3 separate regions of the Homo sapiens genome follow, and all the other regions are linked to region 1. The links are contacts of gene promoters, found by promoter capture Hi-C in human tissues and cell types (Jung and others, 2019). All regions are on one chromosome and are shown on one strand. The core of a region is centred on a gene start or on the middle of the fragment in contact, and the rest is flanking DNA. Distances in the headings are between cores, read along the strand shown. Region 1 holds the start of NDUFS8 (NADH:ubiquinone oxidoreductase core subunit S8). Region 2 has its middle 18 kb from the start of KMT5B. Region 3 overlaps LOC112268076 (translation initiation factor IF-2-like).

Region 1 (2,889 bases), core at 327-2,826:
AGGAGACTGGACTCCCCTACCCCCAGCAAAGGCTTCTTTGGTCCTACCTGCACGTGCAGCCTGGGCCAGGGCCCGCAGCAGCATAGGCGTGGTCAGGCAGCGCATCTGGTGGCATAAAAAGGGATGGAGGGTGGGGTGTGCCCAAGAACCATCCTCTTCTGAGACTGGCACCGCAAGGATCCCAAGTCTCCACTGACATGTGTCACTTTGCCCTCTACTCGCACCCCATTGCTGTCAGAGGCACAGATGGCTTTCCTGTTCCCAGCGCCTCCCAGCTTTCCATCTGATTCAGCTTGGCTGAGCTACAATTCAGTTTCTGTGGACCCCAAGTTCTGCCTCACCTAAGAAACCTTTTAAATCCATCCTTCCTTTCTCCCTCCCAGAGATCCTGTTTCCCACCTTTCTGCTCCTCCCTTCATCCTCCCCAAATCTAACCAAAAACAACATTACCAGCCCCCGCCAGCATGCACTGAGAGCGAACTTTGTTAGCTCTCCTCCCCCAGGAACCGTGCCCAGGGGTGGAAAGCGCTGCCATCCTATCCTTACAAGGACTCCACGAGGGAGGCACAAATAAGGCGCTGGGACTCAGTTTGTTGAGTGACTCGCTAGGGCTGGGTGTGGTGGCTCACGCCTGTAATCCCAGCACTTTGGGAGGCTGAGGCAGGTGGATCACCTGAGGTCAGGAGTTTGAGACCAGCCTGGCTAACATGGTGGAACCCCGTCCCTACCAAAAAATACAGAAATTAGCCAGGTGTGGTGGTGGGCACTTATAATCCCAGCTACTCGGGAGGTTGAGGTAGGAGAATCGCTTGAACCCAGGAGGCAGAAGTTGCAGTGAGCCCAGACTGCACCACTGCCCTCCAACCTGGGCGACAGAGTGAGACCTTGTCTCAAAAAAAAGATAAAAAAGTGACTTGTCGGAAGTCACACGATAAGGAGGTGGGCCGAGGATCGGAACCCAGCCCTGCCCTGCTGGAAACTCTTCAAGGCCTGAACAGTCCTCGGTACCACATTCCTTTCCCCAGCTTCAAGGCCCTCCTGGAACTGTCCCCCAGCCTGCCGCGTGACCTTGGGCAGATGATGTGACCTGACCTCCGTCTTCTCACCTATGAAGTGGGTTGGGGGCGGTTGGTCTTGGGAATTAGGGGAGCCCGTACATGCCAAGGGCACCCCAGAGCCCGGCACTTAGCCGGCGCTCATAAGAGCTCATCCCACGACCTGTGAACCCCCTAACAGGCCCACTCCTTTGGATCACTGACTGCAGTTCCAGGGACCCAACCCAGCACCTTCCCCACCTTCCCAGTGATCTCCGACCCTAACTAGGCCGGTGGCGCAGAGCGGGCGGCGCATGCGCCCTGAGAGCCGGCTCCCCGCTGCACCTGAAGGACACGGAGGCCGCGGATCCTGAGTGAGCCGAGGGGAAGCCCAGGCGCAGAGCTGGCGGCGCCAACGGGGACACCACACTCGCCCCCGACGCCACGCTGCCCAAGCCCGACTTTCACGGCCAAAACGTGAACACCCACCTTGAAGCGCCGCCGCTACTTGCCTTGCCAAGCAGGCCAGTCAATCGGGAGGCGGAGGCTACACTGTAGGACGCTGCCATTGGGCCAGCGGGTTCCCCCTTTTCTGTATTGATGCTTCATGGTGTGGTCTGATTGGCCAGCAAGGCTGCTGAAAGAGGCGGGATTCAGAAATATCTTTCTTTTGATTGGCTAGGAGAGACCGGCGCTTGAAGTTTGTAGGGGGCCGCCATGTTGGTTTGGGGAGGCCAATAAGTGAAGACCTCCGAGCCGCTGGAGGCGGGACATCCGGGGCGTGGTTTAGAAAGAGTGCTTTCGCCGTGGGTGCAGAGGGTGGGCCCGCCGGGTTGGGTGGGGGGCGTGTGATGACGGTAATGGCGACGAGATGCTCAACTCACGCGGCCTCTTTTAATCCTCACAGCAGCTCTGCGTGGAGAAACTACAGTAACGTGTTACCACGTTAAGGCGGGAAGCTGAGGCATGGGAGTATTTAGTAACGTTCCCGGGCCGTAGAGCTGCGGTGTGCGGCCGCCTGATCCACCTGATCTGTATGACTCCCGTACTCAACCAGCCTATGTTTCCTACCAGCGAATTTTTTTTTTTTTTTTTTTTTTTTTCTTTTTTTGAGACAATCTGGCTCTGTGGCTCAGGCTGGAATGCAGTGGTGCGATCTCGGCTCACTGCAGCCTCGACCTCCCAGGCTCGGGTGATCCTCACTTCTCAGCCTCCCGAGCAGCTGGAACCACAGTCGCCTGCCACCACCAGGCTCGGCTAATTTTTGTATTTTTTGTAGAGACGGGGTCTCGCCATGTTGCCCAGGCTGGTCTGGAACTCCTGGACTCAGGCGATCCTCCTGCCTCGGCCTGCCAAAGTGCTGGGATTACAGGCGTGAGCCACCACGCCGGGCCTTTCCCCGGGAATGCTGTGGTAGAGGGACCCGCAGAGGCCCCGAGGCTGCCTGCATGTGTGTGTTGGGAGGATCTGCGCTGAGGGTAGGTAGGAGTTGGGCAGGCCAGGACAGGAAGGAGGCAGAGGGCATGTCCCATGCCCGTGCAGAGGGAGGACACGCATGGTAGACCAGGACGAGGACAAGGGCAGGCTCAGTGTGTGCAAAGGGGACAGTGGTTTGGGATTTGCATGCAGATGCCCGAGCCTCCAAAGGACCTGTGGGCCACAGGGAGACCCTGGGGGAGTTCAAGCTGAGGAGTGGAGAGGGCTTTGGGCTGGTCAGCAGGTGCTCAGAGGAGAGGGGCTGGCCCTAGAGAGAAGGGAGGTCTTGGGATGGTGGCCCACACCTGACCCTGGCCCTTCATCAGGTGATTCCTGCGTGGATGCCTGCGGGGATTCCTGCGTGGATTGGGGAAGTCCT
Region 2 (3,090 bases), core at 313-2,812, 200 kb before region 1:
TGTTCTTTCTTTTTTTTTGAGACAGAGTCTCGCTCTGTCGCCCAGGCTGGAGTGCAATGGCTTGATCTCGGCTCACTGCAAGCTCCACCTCCCAGGTTCATGCCATTCTCCTGCCTCAGCCTTCTGAGTAGCTGGGAATACAGGCGCCCATTACCACGCCTGGCTAAATTTTTGTATCTTTAGTAGAGATGGGGTTTCACCATGTTAGCCAGGATGGTCTCAATCTCCTGACCTTGTGATCTGCCTGCCTCGGCCTCCCAAGACATTTTCAAACTATTAAAAGAAAAAAAAAAACAGCCGGGCATGGTGACTCACGCCTGTAATCCCAGCACTTTGGGAGGCTGAGGAGGGCAGATCACGAGGTCAAGAGATTGAGACCATCCCGGCCAACATGGCAAAATGCCATCTACTAAAAATACAAAAATTAGCAGGGCTTGGTGGTGTGCACCTGTAATCCCAGCTACCCAGGAGGCTGAGGCAGGAGAATCGCTTGAACCCAGGAGGCAGAGGTTGCAGTGAGCTGAGATCATGTCATTGCACTCCAGCCTGGAGACAGAGTGAGACTCGGTCTCAAAAAAATAAAAAATAAACAAACAAAAACAAAAACAAAAAACCTGTCAACCAAGAATCCTATATTGGATAAAACTGTCTTTCAAAAGTGAAGAATATGTGCTTGGCTGAAAAGCCAATGCAGCAAAGCTTCCATCCGTGAGATTATGACTGAATGCCTCTAAATCAAAACTCCGCCCAGGCAGAAGGCAGAATGATATGATAGCACTGCAGAGCCTTGGTTGGCCTCAGATAGCTGGTCCTTTACCGTGCTGCCAGTGCCTCATCTGGTGCCAGGACCGGAGTCCAGTACAGAGAACTCCTCAACCCGTGAAATGGGGTATGGCCAGAAATGGGCTGTCCCCGCTGGCCCATCATGGAGTGCACATTCACGGAGAACCTGGTACTAAACCATTCATAGACAACCTGCTTCTGGGTCAGGATTTTGTACATAGCAGAGTATCTCCCTCACTGTGATCTATTTAAAGTCAGCCCTCAAGATAAGGGTTTGTAAAAGAAAGGAATCAATAATATAAAATTTTTTGAGACAAGGTCTTGCTGTGTCGCCCAGGTTGTAGTGGAGCGGCATGATCACAGCTCACTACAGCCTCAGCCTCCTGGGCTCAAGTGATCCTCCCATCTCAGCCTCCTGAGGACTACAGCTGGGACTACAGACATGCACCAAGCCCAGCTAATTTTTTTTTTCTTTTTTGTAGAGTGGGGTTTCTCCATGTTGTCCAGGGTGGTCTCCAACTCCTGGGCTCAAGCAATCTGCCCACTTTGGCCTCTCAGAGTGTTAGGATTACAGGCATGAGCCACCATACCCAACCCATAAATAATATTTTTAAGAAGATAAAAGAAAAATATAAGAAAAGCCAAAGGGGCCAGGTACAATAGCTCATACCTATAATCCCAATACTTTGGAGGACAAGGCAGGAAGATCACTTGAGTCCAGGATTTTGAGACCAGCCTGGGCAACATAGTGAGACCCTATCTCTACAAAATCAAAGGTCAGGCGTTGTGATGCATGTTTGTAATCCTAGCTACTCAGGAGGCTGAGGGAGGAGGATTGCTTGAGCCCAGGAGGTTGAGGTTGCAGTGAACTGTGATCATGCTACTGTACTCCATCCTGGGTGACAGAGTGAGGCCCTGTCTCTGAACAAAAAGAAGAAAGAAAAAGAAAAAAAAAGCGAAGAAGAAAACTCAAGAAGTTCATAACCAGTAAACCTGCTCTGCAAGATATGCTTAAGGGAGTCCTGAAGGTGAAACGAAAGGACACTAGATAGTAACATGAAACTGTATGAAGAAGTAAAGATCTCAATAGAGGCAAATATATGTGCAATTATAAAAGCTAGTACTATTGTAACAGTAGGTTGTAAAACTACTTTTGGTTTTCTGCAGAATTTAAGAGACTATTACACTTTAAAAAACAATCAGTATCGGCCGGGTGCAGTGGCTCACATCTGTAATCTCAGCACTTTTGGAGGCCGAGGCAGGCAGATCATCTGAGGTCAGGAGTTCAAGACCAGCCTGGCCAACATGGTAAAATCCTGTCTCTACTAAAAATACAAAAATTAGCCAGGCATGGTGGTGGGTGCCTGTAATCCCAGCTACTTGGGAGGCTAAGGCAGGAAAATCGCTTGAACCTGGGAGGCGGAGGTTTCTGTGAGCCAAGATCGGGCCACTGCACTCCAGCCTGGGTGACAAGAGTGAGACAGACTCCATCTCAAAATAAATAAATAAGTAAATAAAATAAATTAAAAGTCAGTATAATAATAAATTAATTAATTGATTAGTTAAACCAAGAACTAATCCAACGCTAGTATTACTGTAACTGGTTTGTAACTACACATTTTGTTTGCTGTATAATTTAAGACACTAACTTTTTAAAAATCATTGTCAGTTTATGTTTTGGGGCATAGAATGTTTAAAGATATAATTTTATGACATCAACAACCATAAGAAAAAGAGATGGAGCTGTAAAAAGAGCAGAGTTTTTATACGATACTGAAGTTGACCTGGTATAAATTCAAACCAGAGTGTTATAACTTTAGGATGTTGATATGGTTTGGCTGTGTCCCCACCCAAATATCATCTTGAATTGTAGTTCCTACAATCCCCATTTGTCATGGGAGGGGCCTGGTGGAAAGTAATTGAATCATGGGGGTCATTACCTCAAAGTTGCTGTTCTCATGATAGTGAGTGAGTTCTCATGAGATCTGATGGTTTTATAAGGGGACTTTCCCCCTTTTGCTCAGCACTTCTCCTTACTGTTGGCATGTGAAGAAGGACATGTTTGCTTCCCCTTCCACCCATGACTGTAAGTTTCCTGAGGCCTCCCCAGCCATGGTGAAGTGTGAGTCAATTAAGCCTCTTTCCTTTATAAATTACCCAGTCTCGGGTATGTCTTTGTTAGCAGCATGAGAATGGACTAATACAGATGTTAAATGTAATACCCATTGTAATAACAAAGAAAATAGCTGTAGAATATACACAGAAGAAAATGAGAAGAAATTCAAACATTTTTCTATTAAAAAAAAA
Region 3 (3,090 bases), core at 220-2,719, 180 kb after region 1:
AGAGAGGAGGTGAGGACTCGGGAGAAACCCCTCCCTTGGCAGCTCGTTTAAGACCCAAAACGGGGACACAAATGCCCCTGAGAGAGCAGCGGTAGACTGGGATAGATGAGGATGGTCACGTAGTGGGGAGGCGTGTTTTGGGTACCAGCCCTTCACCTCTGCCCACCTTCTCAACTGGAAAAACAATACCCCGTCCTGTACCGAAAAGCCACAAGCTCTGATTGATTTGCTCCAAACTATTATCCAGACCCATAACCCCACCTGGGCTGATTGCCACCAGTTACTCATGTTCCTCTTTAACACGGATGAAAGGGGGAGAGTGCTCCAAGCAGCAACTGAGTGGCTAGAGGAACATGCACCAGCTGATTACCAAAACCCCCAAGAGTATGTAAGGACCCAGTTACCAAGAACTGACCCCCAGTGGGACCCACATGAAAGAGAGGATATGCAAAGGCTAAACAGAGACTGGGAAGCTCTCTTGGAAGGATTAAAGAGGGGAGCCCAGAAGGCCACAAATGTTAACAAAGTCTCTGAGGTCATTCAGAGAAAAGAAGAAAGTCCAGCACAATTGTAGGAGAGACTGTGTAAGGCCTATGGTATGTATACTCCCTTTGATCCCGATAGCCCTGAAAATCAACGCATGATTAACACGGCTTTAGTTACTCAAAGTGCAGAAGACATTAGAAGAAAACTGCAGCAACAGGCTGAGTTTGCAGGGATGAACACATCAGAGTTATTACAAATAGCTAACCAGGCGTTTGTAAACAGGGATGCAGTAAGCCGTAAGGAAAACCACAGAGACAATGAACGTCAGGCCCAGCGAAACACCGACCTGTTAGCGGCAGCAATCAGAGGGGTCCCCCCAAAGAGGCAAGGGAAAGGGGGCCCCGGGAAGGAAACTCAGCCTGGCTGTCAGAGCTTGCAGCGTAATCAGTGTGCTTATTGTAAAGAAATAGGACATTGGAAAAACAAATGCCCTCAGCTAAAAAGAAAACCAGGTGACTCAGAGCAGGAGGCCCCAGACAAGGATGAAGGGGCCCTGCTCAACCTGGCAGAAGGGTTATTGGACTGAGGGGGACTGGGCTCAAGGACCCCCAAAGAGCCTATGGTCAGGATGACAGTTTGGGGTAAAGACATTGATTTTCTTGTAGATAGCGGTGCTGGACATTCGGTAGTAACCACCCCGGTCGCCCCCTTATCCAAAAAGATTATTAACATCATCAGAGCCATGGGAGTTTCAGCAAAGCAAGCTTTCTGCTTGCCTCGGACTTGTGCTGTAGGAGGACATAAAGTGATTCATCAGTGTTTGTACACACCTGACTGTCCCTTGCGCTTGTTGGGAAGGGACTTGCTTAGCAAACTGAGAGCCACTATCTCTTTTACAGAGCATGGCTCTTTGCTGCTAAAGTCACCCAGAACAGGAGTCATTATGACCCTTACGGTCCCCCGAGAGGAAGAATGGAGACTTTTCTTAACTGAGTGGGGCCAAGAGATAAGACCGGCTCTGGCTAAGCGGTGGCCAAGAGTGTGGGTGGAAGACAACCCTCCAGGGTTTGCAGTCAACCAAGCCCCCGTACTTATAGAAGTTAAGCCTAGGGCCCAGCCAGTTAGGCAAAAACAGGATCCGGTCCCCAGAGAAGCTCTTGAAGGTATCCAGGTCCATCTCAAGCACCTAAGAAGTTTTGGAATTAGAGTTTCTTGTCAGTCTTCATGGAACACTCCCCTCTTGCCTGTTCCCAAGCCTAAGATCAAGGACTACTGGCCGGTACAGGATTTGCGCTTGGTTAATCAGGCTGCAGTGACTTTACATCCAGCAGTACCTAACCCGTACACATTGCTGGGGTTGCTGCCAGCTGAGGACAGCTGCTTCACCTGCTTGGACCTGAAAGATGCTTTCTTTAGCATCAGATTAGCCCCTGAGAGACAGAAGCTGTTTGCCTTTCTCTGTTTGACTTCCGGATCTGGGAAGATCCGGAGTCAGGTGTCACTACTCAGTACACTTGGACCGGGCTTCCCCAAGGGTTCAAGAACTCCCCCACCATCTTTGGGGAGGCATTGCCTCGAGACCTCCAGAGGTTTCCCACCAGAGACCTAGACTGCATTTTGCTCCAGTACGTTGATGATCTTTTGCTGGGACACCCCACGGCAGTCGGGTGCACCAAAGAAACAGATGCCCTACTCCGGCATCTGGAGGACTGTGGGTATAAGATGTCCAAGAAAAAAGCTTAGATCTGCTGACAGCAGGTACATTACTTAGGATTTACTATCCGAAAGGGGGAGAGCAGCCTAGGATCAGAAAGAAAGCAGGTCATTTGAAATCTACTGGAGCCTAAGACCAGAAGGCAGGTGAGAGAATTCCTATGGGCTGTGGGGTTTTGCAGACTGTAGATCCCAAACTTTGCAGTATAAGCCAAGCCTTTGTATGAGGTCACAAAGGGGTGGGGCGGGAACGTTTTGAATGGGGATCCCAGCAACAGCAAGCCTTTCATGAGTTAAAGGAAAAACTTATGTCAGCCCCAGCCCTGAAGCTACCCGATCTAACAAAGCCTTTTCCATTGTATGTGTCAGAGAGAGAAAAGATGGCAGTTGGAGTTTTAACCCAAACTGTGGGGCCCTGGCCGAGGCCGGTGGCCTACCTCTCTAAACAACTAGACGGGGTTTCTAAAGGATGGCCCCCATGTTTGAGGGCCTTGGCAGCAACTGCCCTGCTAGTACAAGAAGCAGATAAGCTGACTCTTGGACAAAACCTGAACATAAAGGCCTCCCATGCTGTGGTGACTTTAATGAATACTAAAGGACATCATTGGCTAATGAATGCTAGACTCACTAAGTACTAAAGTTTGCTCTGTGAAAATCCCCATATAACCATTGAAGTTTGTAACACCCTGAACCCCGCTACCTTGCTCCCAGTATCAGAGAGCCCTGTCGAGCATGACTGTGTAGAAGTGTTGGACTCAGTTGACTCTAGCAGACCTAACCTCCAGGACCAGCCTTAGGCATCAGTAGACTGGGAACTATACGTGGCTGGGAGCAGCTTCATCAACCCACAAGGAGAGAGATGTGCAAGATATGCGGTGGTAACTCTAGACA

The links. The method cuts DNA at HindIII sites, captures the fragments that hold promoters and counts their contacts. A contact is called where the count stands out against the background at its distance.
Region 2: a contact is called between a fragment that was not itself captured here and the fragment with the promoter of NDUFS8 in region 1, in 2 of the 25 tissues and cell types used here (bladder and dorsolateral prefrontal cortex).
Region 3: a contact is called between a fragment that was not itself captured here and the fragment with the promoter of NDUFS8 in region 1, in 2 of the 25 tissues and cell types used here (H1 embryonic stem cells and pancreas).

What each region holds. Positions count from the first base shown.
Region 1 is chr11:68,029,368-68,032,256 of GRCh38, reverse strand. NDUFS8 (NADH:ubiquinone oxidoreductase core subunit S8) reads right to left here and starts at 1,576. Exons shown (of 7, transcript NM_002496.4): 1 at 1,524-1,576; 2 at 48-105. The coding sequence starts at 105. It overlaps GLTC1 (glycolysis associated regulator of LDHA post-transcriptional modification 1), which reads left to right and starts at 1,823. Exons shown (of 4, transcript NR_197583.1): 1 at 1,823-1,964; 2 at 2,837-2,889. RefSeq lists enhancers at 1,370-1,549, 1,541-1,835. The HindIII fragment of the contact is 8,880 bases long and covers 1-2,889 here.
Region 2 is chr11:68,229,547-68,232,636 of GRCh38, reverse strand. No RefSeq gene overlaps it. Among named protein-coding and RNA genes, the nearest start is that of KMT5B, 18 kb to the right of the region's middle. The HindIII fragment of the contact is 3,922 bases long and covers 1-3,090 here.
Region 3 is chr11:67,849,334-67,852,423 of GRCh38, reverse strand. All of the region lies in intron 3 of LOC112268076 (translation initiation factor IF-2-like), which reads left to right. It also overlaps the pseudogene ENPP7P7. Among named protein-coding and RNA genes, the nearest start is that of LINC02754, 34 kb to the left of the region's middle. The HindIII fragment of the contact is 3,083 bases long and covers 1-3,010 here.